Regions from separate parts of the Homo sapiens genome. Here regions 2, 3 and 4 are each linked to region 1. The links are contacts of gene promoters, found by promoter capture Hi-C in blood cells and fetal thymus (Javierre and others, 2016). All regions are on one chromosome and are shown on one strand. Each heading gives the region's core, a stretch centred on a gene start or on the middle of the fragment in contact. The rest is flanking DNA. Distances are from core to core; before and after follow the strand shown. Region 1 holds the start of GORASP1 (golgi reassembly stacking protein 1). Region 2 has its middle 7.9 kb from the start of MYD88. Region 3 overlaps OXSR1 (oxidative stress responsive kinase 1). Region 4 overlaps ACVR2B (activin A receptor type 2B).

Region 1 (2,545 bases), core at 33-2,532:
TCCATGCAGTTTTCCCAGGAAAGAGTTTGGAGGTGTTTGTTTGGGGGATTACCAACAGATTCTGGTTCAACTATGATGGGGAATTCAACCAAGGCTTTGTCTTAGGAAGGGAATAAGGGGGGAAAAATGAGGACAAATAATAAGAAAAATTATACGAATTGTAGTTACAAGTTATTGTGGGCTTCATATCCACTATCCTGTGCATGGTCCTCTCAGTATCTTTCACAGCTAAGGAAGCTTAAGCCCATGGAAACTACAGCTTGACAAAGGGGCTGAGATTTTAAAGTTAAGTTTCACTTCCTCTAAGGTTTGTGGGTGCTAGGTTGGGAGCAGATGTGGTTGGACTGTAAACATCCTCATGGGCCATATGAAAGAGCCCAGACACCATCCTAAGGGTAACAGAAAGCAGAATGGTTTTAAGGCGAGGGATGTTTTCAGATGTACATTTTTGCAACAACCACTCTGGCTGCTTTTGCATGTGGGGGGTGTGTGCCGTGGTGGCAGCAGGGACTACTGATGCTGAAAAGAGCCACAGCAGAGAAACCAGATGGGAGGGAGGCTGTTGCAGGCTCTCAGGGGGGAGAGATGGTGCTGGTTCTGGGCTAGAAGATAAAAAGATAAAAAGAAAACCCAGGAGACATCAAGGAGCTGGCATTTCTTGTAGACAGGATTAGAAGATGAGTATAGGGAAGAGGTATGAGTTAAGGCTAGGAGATTAAATGGTGAAGCCATCAACTGGGGTGGGAGGCGCAGGCGAGAGTGAGCTGGGTGGAAGAAGGGATGATGACAAGAAGGGATAATGATAGTGATTGGATGAGCTGGTTTGGGGTAGCTCAAGAAACGGGGATGCTAATTTGGGGCTCAGGGTGCGCAGAAGCCACCGGAGAAGACGCCCTTGCCAGGGGGAGTGGGGCAAGAAAAGGCAGGACCGCCTGATATAACTGAGGACAGCGAAGGGTGGCAGGAGAGTAGCAGGGCAGACGGTCTCTGGGTCAGGGGCGGGGAGTCACGAGGGAGCCCTCGGACAGCGCCCGGGCCACGCACCATAAGGGAGGAGTCATTGCTGCTCATCTCGGGCCGCTCGCGGCTCCGAGTCCGGGTCTGGTGGGGCGGTGCAGAGCGGGATTCCCGAGGCAGGGTCGTGGGCACTCTATCGCGGCGGGCGGTTGAAGGCGTTACAGTCCTTGGAAACCGAGCTGCTAGCCGGTTGCTAGGAGCGTCCAGTGTCTGGAGTGGGAGGAACAAAACGCCTCACGTCACAAGGCGCAGGAATCGAGCGCCGAGAGAGCGAGTCGGTGCTACTGGCGTCGGGTCGGTCCGGGTAGGCGCAGCGGGACTGGACCTGGGTGCCGAGCGGAGCCGCTGCCATGGGCCTGGGCGTCAGCGCTGAGCAGCCCGCAGGCGGCGCCGAGGGCTTCCACCTCCACGGGGTGAGTTGCCGCCGCGGCGCCGGTGACCTTGGCGAGGCGCCCGCAACCCCGCGCCCGGGCGTCCGGTCGCCGGCTGGCTGGCGACTGCGGCGGGGTCCCGGCCCGAGTGTTTCCGCCTGGGTGGCGGGAGGTGCCCCCTGCCCGGTGGGAGCCTCCTGGGAGAGGCGGCCTCGCGGGACTCCCGGACCCTGGCTAGTCCGCGGCCGCGGTCGGGCCCAGCGCCCGCCCCAAGTGCCAGCAGTGCCGGAAGCGGAGCGTTTTCCTGGTCCGGCCGCCGGGAATGGCGCTCCTCCCGGGTGAAGAATGCACCACTACCAGTCGGGACGCACTCGTGCACTTAGCACACATTTACGCTCGCCTGCCGCGGGCCGCTCTCCGTGCTGGGCCTGGGAAGAGAGTCAGCCACGCCGAGGACAGTCCCGGGGGCCGGGGTTAACCGAGTGGACGCAGCTGCGGGGGAGCCCGTCGGCGCGCGTCCTGCCAGTCGTAGGGTCGTAAGGGCTTCCGAGGGTAGAGGACCGGTGCAAACCAGCCACGGGATAGTGGGGAGCGGGAGGGCCGGGAGAGTGCTGCAGAATCCTCGAGGAGAGCGTTTGCAGCTGGGGAGGGTCCCAGCCTTTAGATGCCGCTACATGGAGGTCTGGGCGAGCAGGCTTCCGGAGAGTGGAGACGGAGTGGGGTTCCTAGAACGGAGTGTGCTGTGAGGGTGAGGAGAGGGTCCCGCAGCCGGATGGAGATTTGTGCCTGCGGTGAGGGAAGGGCTATAATGTAGGTGAGAGGGGCTGGGGGTCTCTGACCCCGGAGCGCTGCGGGGAAGAGGCGTCCCTGCACCCCCCCTTTCCCTAGTGAAAGGCAGCTGGATGCAGAGATGAGTGGAGACAGGCAAGCTTGTCGGTTTGTGTGTTTTGAAGGTAGGGTCTGTTGCCAGCTAACCACATGAGAGGGCTAAAAGTTTCTTAACGTGAAAACCAGGCTGGCTTGGAGAACCCAGAGTTGACAGGATTTGTGCTTGGGAATGGGCTTTCTTATGGTGAGACACCAAACAGCAAGCGTGGACAGTGGAATGCATCCAGCCAGGAGCGTCTTCCAACAGGTTTGATTAAAGGCAAAGGAAC
Region 2 (2,545 bases), core at 13-2,512, 960 kb after region 1:
CCTTGCTTTAAGTGCCTTGACTCTCCCTCATTTATAGCTGTCCCAAATATTTCCTGTACATAAGTTGAAAACTACATCAGACAATGCATAGAGTGTTTAGGAGAGGAGGTAACCTGATGGATTACATATTTTGAGGAAAGAGGAAATTGTGGGGATCCCAGAGTTTCTTCTCCCAGCCAGTAGTCATTTCATTTCTCTTTTTTGTTTGTGAAATTGCCTGAAGCAGAAATTACCACTGTGCTTATCAACTTCCGTAATCTATCTTGCGCATGACCACTAAACTAATCTTTTGCTTAAACCATCAGATATAATTTTGACAATTTAAGAAAATTAAAGCGTACTCAATTTACTCATATTTTTACTGTTTCTCTTGTTTTTCTTTCTTAGTATTCCAAGATTTTTTTCTTGTATTTCTTTCTGTTTCAAAAACTTCCTTCGGCTATTCTTTTAGGGTAGGCCTGCTGTTGACAAATTCTCATAGTTTTTCTTCAACTGAGAATGTCTTGATTTCCTCCTCATTCCTGAATAATATTTTAACTGGATATAGAATTTTGAGTTGACAGTTTTTTTTTTCAGTCTTTGAAAAATGTTGGGCCAATGTCTTCTGACCTCTGTGGCTTCCAATGAAAGAAATCTGCTGCCATTCAAAAATTTGTTCATTATTGGTAAGGCATCATTTCTCTCTGGCTGCTTGCAATATTTGTTTCTTTGTCTTTAATTCTCAGAGGTTAGACTATGATGTACCTTGGTGTGGATTTCTTGGGGTTTATAATGGTTGGGGTTTGCTCACCTTATCAGCTCTATAGGTTTATGGGTTGTTTTTTTTTCCATATTGGGCAAATTTTCAACCATATTTATTTGTATACCCTTTTAGCTCCAACTTATTTTTCCTCTCCTTTTGGGACTCTGATGACATACATGTTAGACTTTTTTTGTTGTCCCACAAATTCCTGAGACTTAATTTTTTTCCAGTCTATTTTCTGTCTTTTGTTCAGATTGGGTGGTTCCTATTGGTTTGTCTTCAAGTTCACTGATTCTTTGCTATCGACATCTTACAACAGAACCCATCCAGTAAGTTTTTTCTTTTTTTTTTTTCAGTGCTAACGTTTCAATTTAATTGTTTATATCTTCTATTTCTTTTCTGAAACTTAAAAAAATTTGTTTCAAGCATGTTTACAATTACTTATTGAAGCATTTTTATACTGGCTGCTTTAAAGTTCTTGTCAGAAAATTTTGACATCTGTGTCATTTTGGTGTTAGCATCTGTTGGTTGTCTTTTCTTGCTCAAGTTGAGATTTCCCTAGTTCTTGGTATGATGACTGATTTTCAACCTTAGACATTTTGGATGCTATGTAATGAGGCTGGATCTCATTTGGATCTTCTGTTTTAGTTAGCCTTCTTTGACATCAAAACAATGCTGTCTGGTGGAGGTAGAAGTGCAGGTTACTCTATTGACATCCCAGGGTAGAGGTGAGGGAGAACAAGGGAGAGAGTGCCTAGTTACTGCTGGGTCAGGATGAGAGTTCAGGCTGCCCACTAAGTCTCCCCTGATACCACCTTGGCTGGGAGGGAGAAGGATGCCTTGTTACTACTCCCCATCTGGCCTCCACTGACATGATAGAGGACATTACTGCTGGGCAGTGGTGAAAGTCTTGACTCTCTACTAGACCCACTCTGACACCCAAGAAGGTGGGAGTGGAAATTTAGATTCCCCATTTTGCCTTTGCTGGCAGGGTGTAGGTAATACTACAATTTTTTCTATGGTTTAGCTGGAGTGGTTATTGTCTACAAACTTTCTTTCTTGCAAGACTGTCCCTTTCTGGTCGTTTGGCTAGTAAAAGCAGGTTTTCCTTTTTTTTTTTTCTTTTTTTTCCTTTACCTGTACTCATTAGTTTATAGGTTTCTGCCTTCTCCATACTCAGTCTGAGATCCATTAGGCATAGGCAAAAAGAAAACCCTAGGCTAGTGCCATGTCATTCCATAGGTCCTGAGGTCCCTAACCATTCTATCTTCTTCTCTCCACCTTTCAGAGTCTCCTTATATTTGTGTTTTATATAATGTCCAGGGTGTTTTGCCTGTATTTAGCAGAGGGAATAAGGAGAAGTGTTTTTACTCTATATTGTCTCAGAACCAGACATCCCCAAGGGCATTTAAAACATTTATTCTGTATCATCTGGCAAATAGCAGCCAGTGGGGACAATGTTCCCCTAAATTGATGGTGCGGCCCCTCATCTTCCACCCTTACCAGCCCAGTGTTCTGCTGTGTGAATTTTTTTTTTTTTTTGAGACAGAGTCTTGCTCTGTTAGCGCAATGGCATGATCTCAGCTCACTGAAACCTCAACCTTCCGGGTTCAAGCGATTCTCCTGCCTCAGCTACCCAAGTAGCTGGGATTACAGGAATGCACCACCATGCCTGGCTAATTTTTGTATTTTTTGTAGAGACAGGGTTTCACCATGTGTGCCAGGCTGGTCTTGAACTCCTGACCTCAAATGATCCACCCGCCTCAGCCTCCCAAAGTGCTGGGATTACAGGCATGAGCCGCT
Region 3 (2,545 bases), core at 26-2,525, 930 kb after region 1:
TTCTCAGTGAGGTTTTCCCTGACCTAAAACTGAAACCCCACCTCCACCCCTAGCAGTCCCTAACCCCTTTCCCTGCTTTTTCTTCTTTAGAGTTTCTAGATTATAAACTCTGTGAAAGCAGGCATTTTTTGTGTTTGCTTCATTGTTTTATCTCCAGCATCCAGAACAGTGCCTGGCACATAACAGGAGTTCAAGAAATATTTGCTGAATGAATTAATCACATAGTGGGGTATATTTTCAAGGAAAAAAAATCTTGTTTGGGGCAGAACACACACAGAAATAGCCCAGTCTTCATGGGTGTTATTTCATCGTTACCATCATGTACATTAACATTCACTGAGCATCCATTCTGTGTGCCAAGTCTATGCTGAGCACTTTCTTTACTTACATTTCTTCTTTTCATCTAATCATTACAATAATTCCATGTGATAGGTATTCATGGTCTTACAAGACAATGTAAGTAAAGCAATGTAATTAAGGTAAAACTTAGGTCATACAGTTAGTTAGGCAGAGTAGGGCCTAGAAATAAGAACTACCTGAGTTTCAACATTATGCTCTTAATCAGTAGGCAACTACCTCTTCAGATTAAAGCTAACATTTATTAACTGATTACTATGCATCAGGTTAAATTATTTACTTGCAATACCCTATTTGACTATTTTCATTTTAAAAAAAAATGAGGCCAATATTCTTAGTTGCTTAGCAAACATACAATTTCCCCTTCTTTAGTAAGATAATCCTGACCTATTTTGTTTGAAGTAATAATGTGTCCAGCTAAAGCTTCATTTTGCAGTCTGCCTTGCAAATGACCAAATTATACAGTTCTGGCCAGTAAAATAGAAGTGGAAGTCACTGAGTAAGGCATCTAGGAAAGAAAGCCTTTTAAAAGAGAACCAACTCAGCTGTCATGTGTCTTTGTCCTTTTGCCATATTCTTCTGGACAAGAACACAAGCATGAGTCTAGAGGTGGAACAACCATCTTCCAACTATGAGAAGGAGAGTCACCTGCTAAGTGTGGTCGCATGAAAAAACTAGGAGCCTGGGTGCCTGACAGCACCTAGGCTGCCACCTCCAGTCTTCTTGTTATATAAGGGGGAAAAAGGATTTTATTAAGCCACTATTATTTCCATTTTCCCCACATGCAGAGAAATGTAAGCCTTATTTGATACAACACTATGAGGTTGTTGGCCCAATGCTGGCCTCATAGAAAATGTCACCTTAGCTGAGTCTCCCAATCAATGGAAAAATACACTATTAAGCACCACTCTATTGAAAGCACGAAGTCCTTCACATTTATGGAGGCGCTAAAGGTAAGGCCCTGGAATCTGTATTTGAAAACCACAACTTTAAACTCAAAATGTGTGGCTAGTAAACAATCAATGAAAATAAAAAGAAGGGAAAGTCAAGAATAGAAATATATTGCACTGCCTTCAAAGTGTCAAAGCTAGGTGAATCACACCTTAAACCTAGTATTAAGTTTTCAATTTTCTAGTCTGAGGTAAATAGTAAATACTTATTGAGACTTTTCAAGATGCAGGGCAATAAAACCTAACTGGCACAGCCCTCTCTGCCATCATATTGTATTATTAGCAATATCATGGTGATGGTCCTTACAGTTATACTACGATGTCCAACATAAATCCCTAAATCCATCTAAACCTGAATGAGGCCTGGACTAAGAAAAAAAAAGATGCGAAAATAAAATAAATGCAATAATGTTCCACTAAGCATTAAAAACAGATTCAAACTATTTTAAGTGTCACAAGCTTTCACATCACATAGTATTTCATATTTCATGGCAATACCAAAAATTGGGAAATATGAGGACAAGGGGAAGGGTAAAAAAAAGTCAGAGATAATAACAACTATCATTTTATACAAGCTAAACACTTCCCACAAATAATTACACTCAATCTATATAACGGCCCCAGTGACATAGGTACTATTCTCCCCACTATACAGACAAAAAGCTGACACGGAAACTAATCATATAATTTGTCTAAGATCACATAACTAGTAAGAGGCAATGTCAGGATTTGAATCTGGGTCAGTCTAACCCCAAAGCCCAAATTTTTACAGCTGCTTCAACACATGCCAAATACAGTATAACACATGCTCAGAAATTCTAATCTAAGACTAAGGGCTCAAAAATACTGAAAGATCAATGATTAATTGTGAGAATGATACTAACATCTTTTACACATAATCATACTTAAAGAACTTCAAATCTTGCCAAAGCATGCTTAAGGTGATACAATTCTTTAAAAAAAAAAAAAAGTCCTTTGAATTTTCAATCTATAGGCTTTTAATATGTTCCTAAGAGGAGATTCTGTTCTCTGTAGGATTTTACCAGAAAGACGAAGAACAAAACAGAATGTGAGAAACAATCCCATAAATAGTATACTGCTGAGAAGCAAATGTGAAAAAAATTACAGTTCAAATAAACATGTTACAGTTCAAATAAATGTACGTGTTTTGATGGAGATGACACCATTACACTGATTTCTCTAGAATACAATCCTTTGAAAACAAAATTTAAATGATC
Region 4 (2,545 bases), core at 19-2,518, 620 kb after region 1:
GAATGAACTATGATACAATGTTCTTTCCAAAATGTTTTCATTTTGCAACTGTAATTACATGGATGTCTGCTTTAGGCCATTTTAGGTGTATGTGTGTGTGTGTGTGTGTGTGTGTGTGTGTGTGTGTGTGTGTGTGTGTGTGTGTGTGTGTGTGTGTGTGTGTAATATATATATATAAATCAGCACACTTTTCAAATCCAGACAGGGTAACAGCAACAAGCTTAACTCTGTATATATATATATATTTTTTTTAAACATGATACTTTAGTATAACTTTTGTTAATTCAGTAGTACAAGCTATTTCTGTTCTACAAAATTTTTATTTTATAGCTACAAGGGTGAAAAGTGACCTACTACATTTACATCTCACATATCCTGGTATACAAACAGTACTTATTTGAGCCAAAAACTAGAAGTCTTTAGTTTTAGCACTTGAAAGAGCTTCCTTGCTTCTACAGCCTTAAATCATATACTAGTCACATTTCCAGAGTTTGCAATTACTCATCATTTTAAACTGTGAGAAACAGGTGAACCCAAACTTTTAATTACAATTTTTATATACAAGTTAGGTAACACAGCTCAATAAGACTTAGCTATCCATCCTAAGCCCAACACACACATTCTCCACTAAGTTAGACAAGTCTTAGGGTTTTCCTTCTTTCCCTTACAAATAATGTACAAATTTAGAAGTAGCTGGTAAAACTGATAGATATATATAAGATGGCAAATAAAAGGTGACATTTTCTGTTGGTTCCAAAACTGTTCCTGCAAATTTTGTCCTTTGCTGTGTTCTTTAACCGTATGTGTTACATGCAGAAAGCTCTTTTCATAAGAATTGACAACAAACTCGATGTAAGTTAAATTTACAGTACTGTATAAAGTTATTCAGATTCAAGGACAAATGTGGAAAAATATTAACAGGTGAAAAACTTGGCCTTTGACACTACCATTAAGATCATGTCCAGTTCATAAGCAGATTTTTGTACAGTTGAAAAATGGCATTGTTGTGGATTTGTGGTGTGGAACTGAAATCTAGAAATATATTTCTACTCTGCGGTAACCCTCTCCCTCAATTCTGAAGTACCACTCAACTTTCTCTGCATTTTTACAGAATTACAGAAAAAAAGAGGAAAAAAAAGCCGCTGGCATTTTAACAATTCCTTCCCTCACTGGCAGTCTTAACATTTTCAGATGAGGTCTCCTGAAGAATCTCTAATAATCACTTGCTCCCAGTCGGCCTTTCATGATGACTTGGACACTTTTCAAGTTAAAACTCAGATGTTGCCTAATCTTTTCTACTCTCATCTCTGTCATTGTTGGTAAAATTTGGGTGACTGCATTTTTCCCTTACGGAGAAATTATTTGGCTAAACACACACTTAACTCGTGGCAGTGCTCTGAGAAAACCCCACTCGGGCTAAAGCACTTGCAGGGACTGAAGTCAACAGTCCACTGAATGGGGCAGAGAACAAACACTTAAGATGACTGACTTGGGACCCTCACTGGGAACACACTGACCTTGTGTCCCATGGTCTGCGGAACAGCAGGTCTACAGGACTGCAGGAGAGCCCAGGAAGGTAGCCCATGCTCGTATAGCTGAGTTACCACTTTTAATCTTGGTCTGCCATCTATGCCCCAGAGACAAAAATTCAGATGCGGTGACTGCTGGTTAATTAAACTTTTTGAACTGGTAAAAAAGGCTCTTTAAAAAATATATATATTTATTTAAAATACATCAAAATGACAAACAGCCATATCCCACAAGGCCTAATTTCACAGCAACATATGCTACAGACATCTTCCCAAAATGCACTATGGTGGATAGTGGGTTTTTTATCCTGCCATTTAAAGGAATGTTCTACATTTGAGCATTAGCGACTGGAAATGTGTTACAAAGAGCTTATCTTTGGAACTAATTTGCGTGCAAGACCAGCCAATTAAATCGCTTTGCCTATTCAGACACACAAGAATACTGAAAATGGCAGAATTCAAAGAGGAACACAGGAAGCACCATTCAGATGACACTCTAGACCCATCCCACCACAATGCCATGACGAGCTTGCCAGAAGCCCTTTCTTCAGTCCTTGGGAAGAGTTTTGCTTTAAAACAAGTGCCCACGCTCAGCAGGGTTCCTGCATGTGTACGTTAAAAGTCTGCAGTATCAAGAGGACCCAGATGGCGACACTGTTCAACATGAGGTCTGAGGTAACTGGTTCTTAAAATACCTGGATCACAGAAGTGCATCCAGAAATTAGGGCTGGGAAAAAGGAAAAAGGTAGAGGTTGGGGACTAGAAAAGACAAGTAGAAAAAAGCTTACAGCAGTTGCTTTTGGGGCGAAGAGAGTGATAAAAACAAAGGCACAACAGAATTACATTCCAAGACACGTGGCTGGAGAGCAGAGAAAATGTTCTTTTTATGGGGAACAGATGGGGTTGGTTTCTGGAGTGCTACTAGATCTGCTGGAACTAAATTTATTCCAAGTATAAAAAGGGTAAAGTGTAAACCTATACGCTCAACCAGAATGAATAAAAAGCACAGCTGGTTT

The links. The method cuts DNA at HindIII sites, captures the fragments that hold promoters and counts their contacts. A CHiCAGO score of 5 or more calls a contact.
Region 2: a contact is called between a fragment that was not itself captured here and the fragment with the promoter of GORASP1 in region 1, in 1 of 17 cell types (total B cells). The highest score is 7.3, in total B cells.
Region 3: a contact is called between a fragment that was not itself captured here and the fragment with the promoter of GORASP1 in region 1, in 1 of 17 cell types (activated CD4 T cells). The highest score is 5.2, in activated CD4 T cells.
Region 4: a fragment that was not itself captured here is called in contact with the fragment with the promoter of GORASP1 in region 1 in 1 of 17 cell types (monocytes); the score reaches 6.5 in monocytes.

The regions. Positions count from the first base shown.
Region 1 is chr3:39,106,364-39,108,908 of GRCh38, reverse strand. GORASP1 (golgi reassembly stacking protein 1) reads left to right here and starts at 1,282. Exons shown (of 9, transcript NM_031899.4): 1 at 1,282-1,430. The coding sequence starts at 1,368. It overlaps TTC21A (tetratricopeptide repeat domain 21A), which reads right to left and starts at 1,229. Exons shown (of 29, transcript NM_001366900.1): 1 at 1,045-1,229. The coding sequence starts at 1,071. RefSeq lists a silencer at 1,333-1,652. The HindIII fragment of the contact is 2,080 bases long and covers 240-2,319 here.
Region 2 is chr3:38,145,293-38,147,837 of GRCh38, reverse strand. No RefSeq gene overlaps it. Among named protein-coding and RNA genes, the nearest start is that of MYD88, 7.9 kb to the right of the region's middle. The HindIII fragment of the contact is 5,277 bases long and covers 1-2,545 here.
Region 3 is chr3:38,171,399-38,173,943 of GRCh38, reverse strand. The region is part of intron 1 of OXSR1 (oxidative stress responsive kinase 1); the gene reads right to left. Among named protein-coding and RNA genes, the nearest start is that of OXSR1, 7.1 kb to the right of the region's middle. The HindIII fragment of the contact is 986 bases long and covers 783-1,768 here.
Region 4 is chr3:38,490,350-38,492,894 of GRCh38, reverse strand. ACVR2B (activin A receptor type 2B) reads right to left here. Exons shown (of 11, transcript NM_001106.4): 11 at 1-2,545. Among named protein-coding and RNA genes, the nearest start is that of EXOG, 4.7 kb to the left of the region's middle. The HindIII fragment of the contact is 2,092 bases long and covers 223-2,314 here.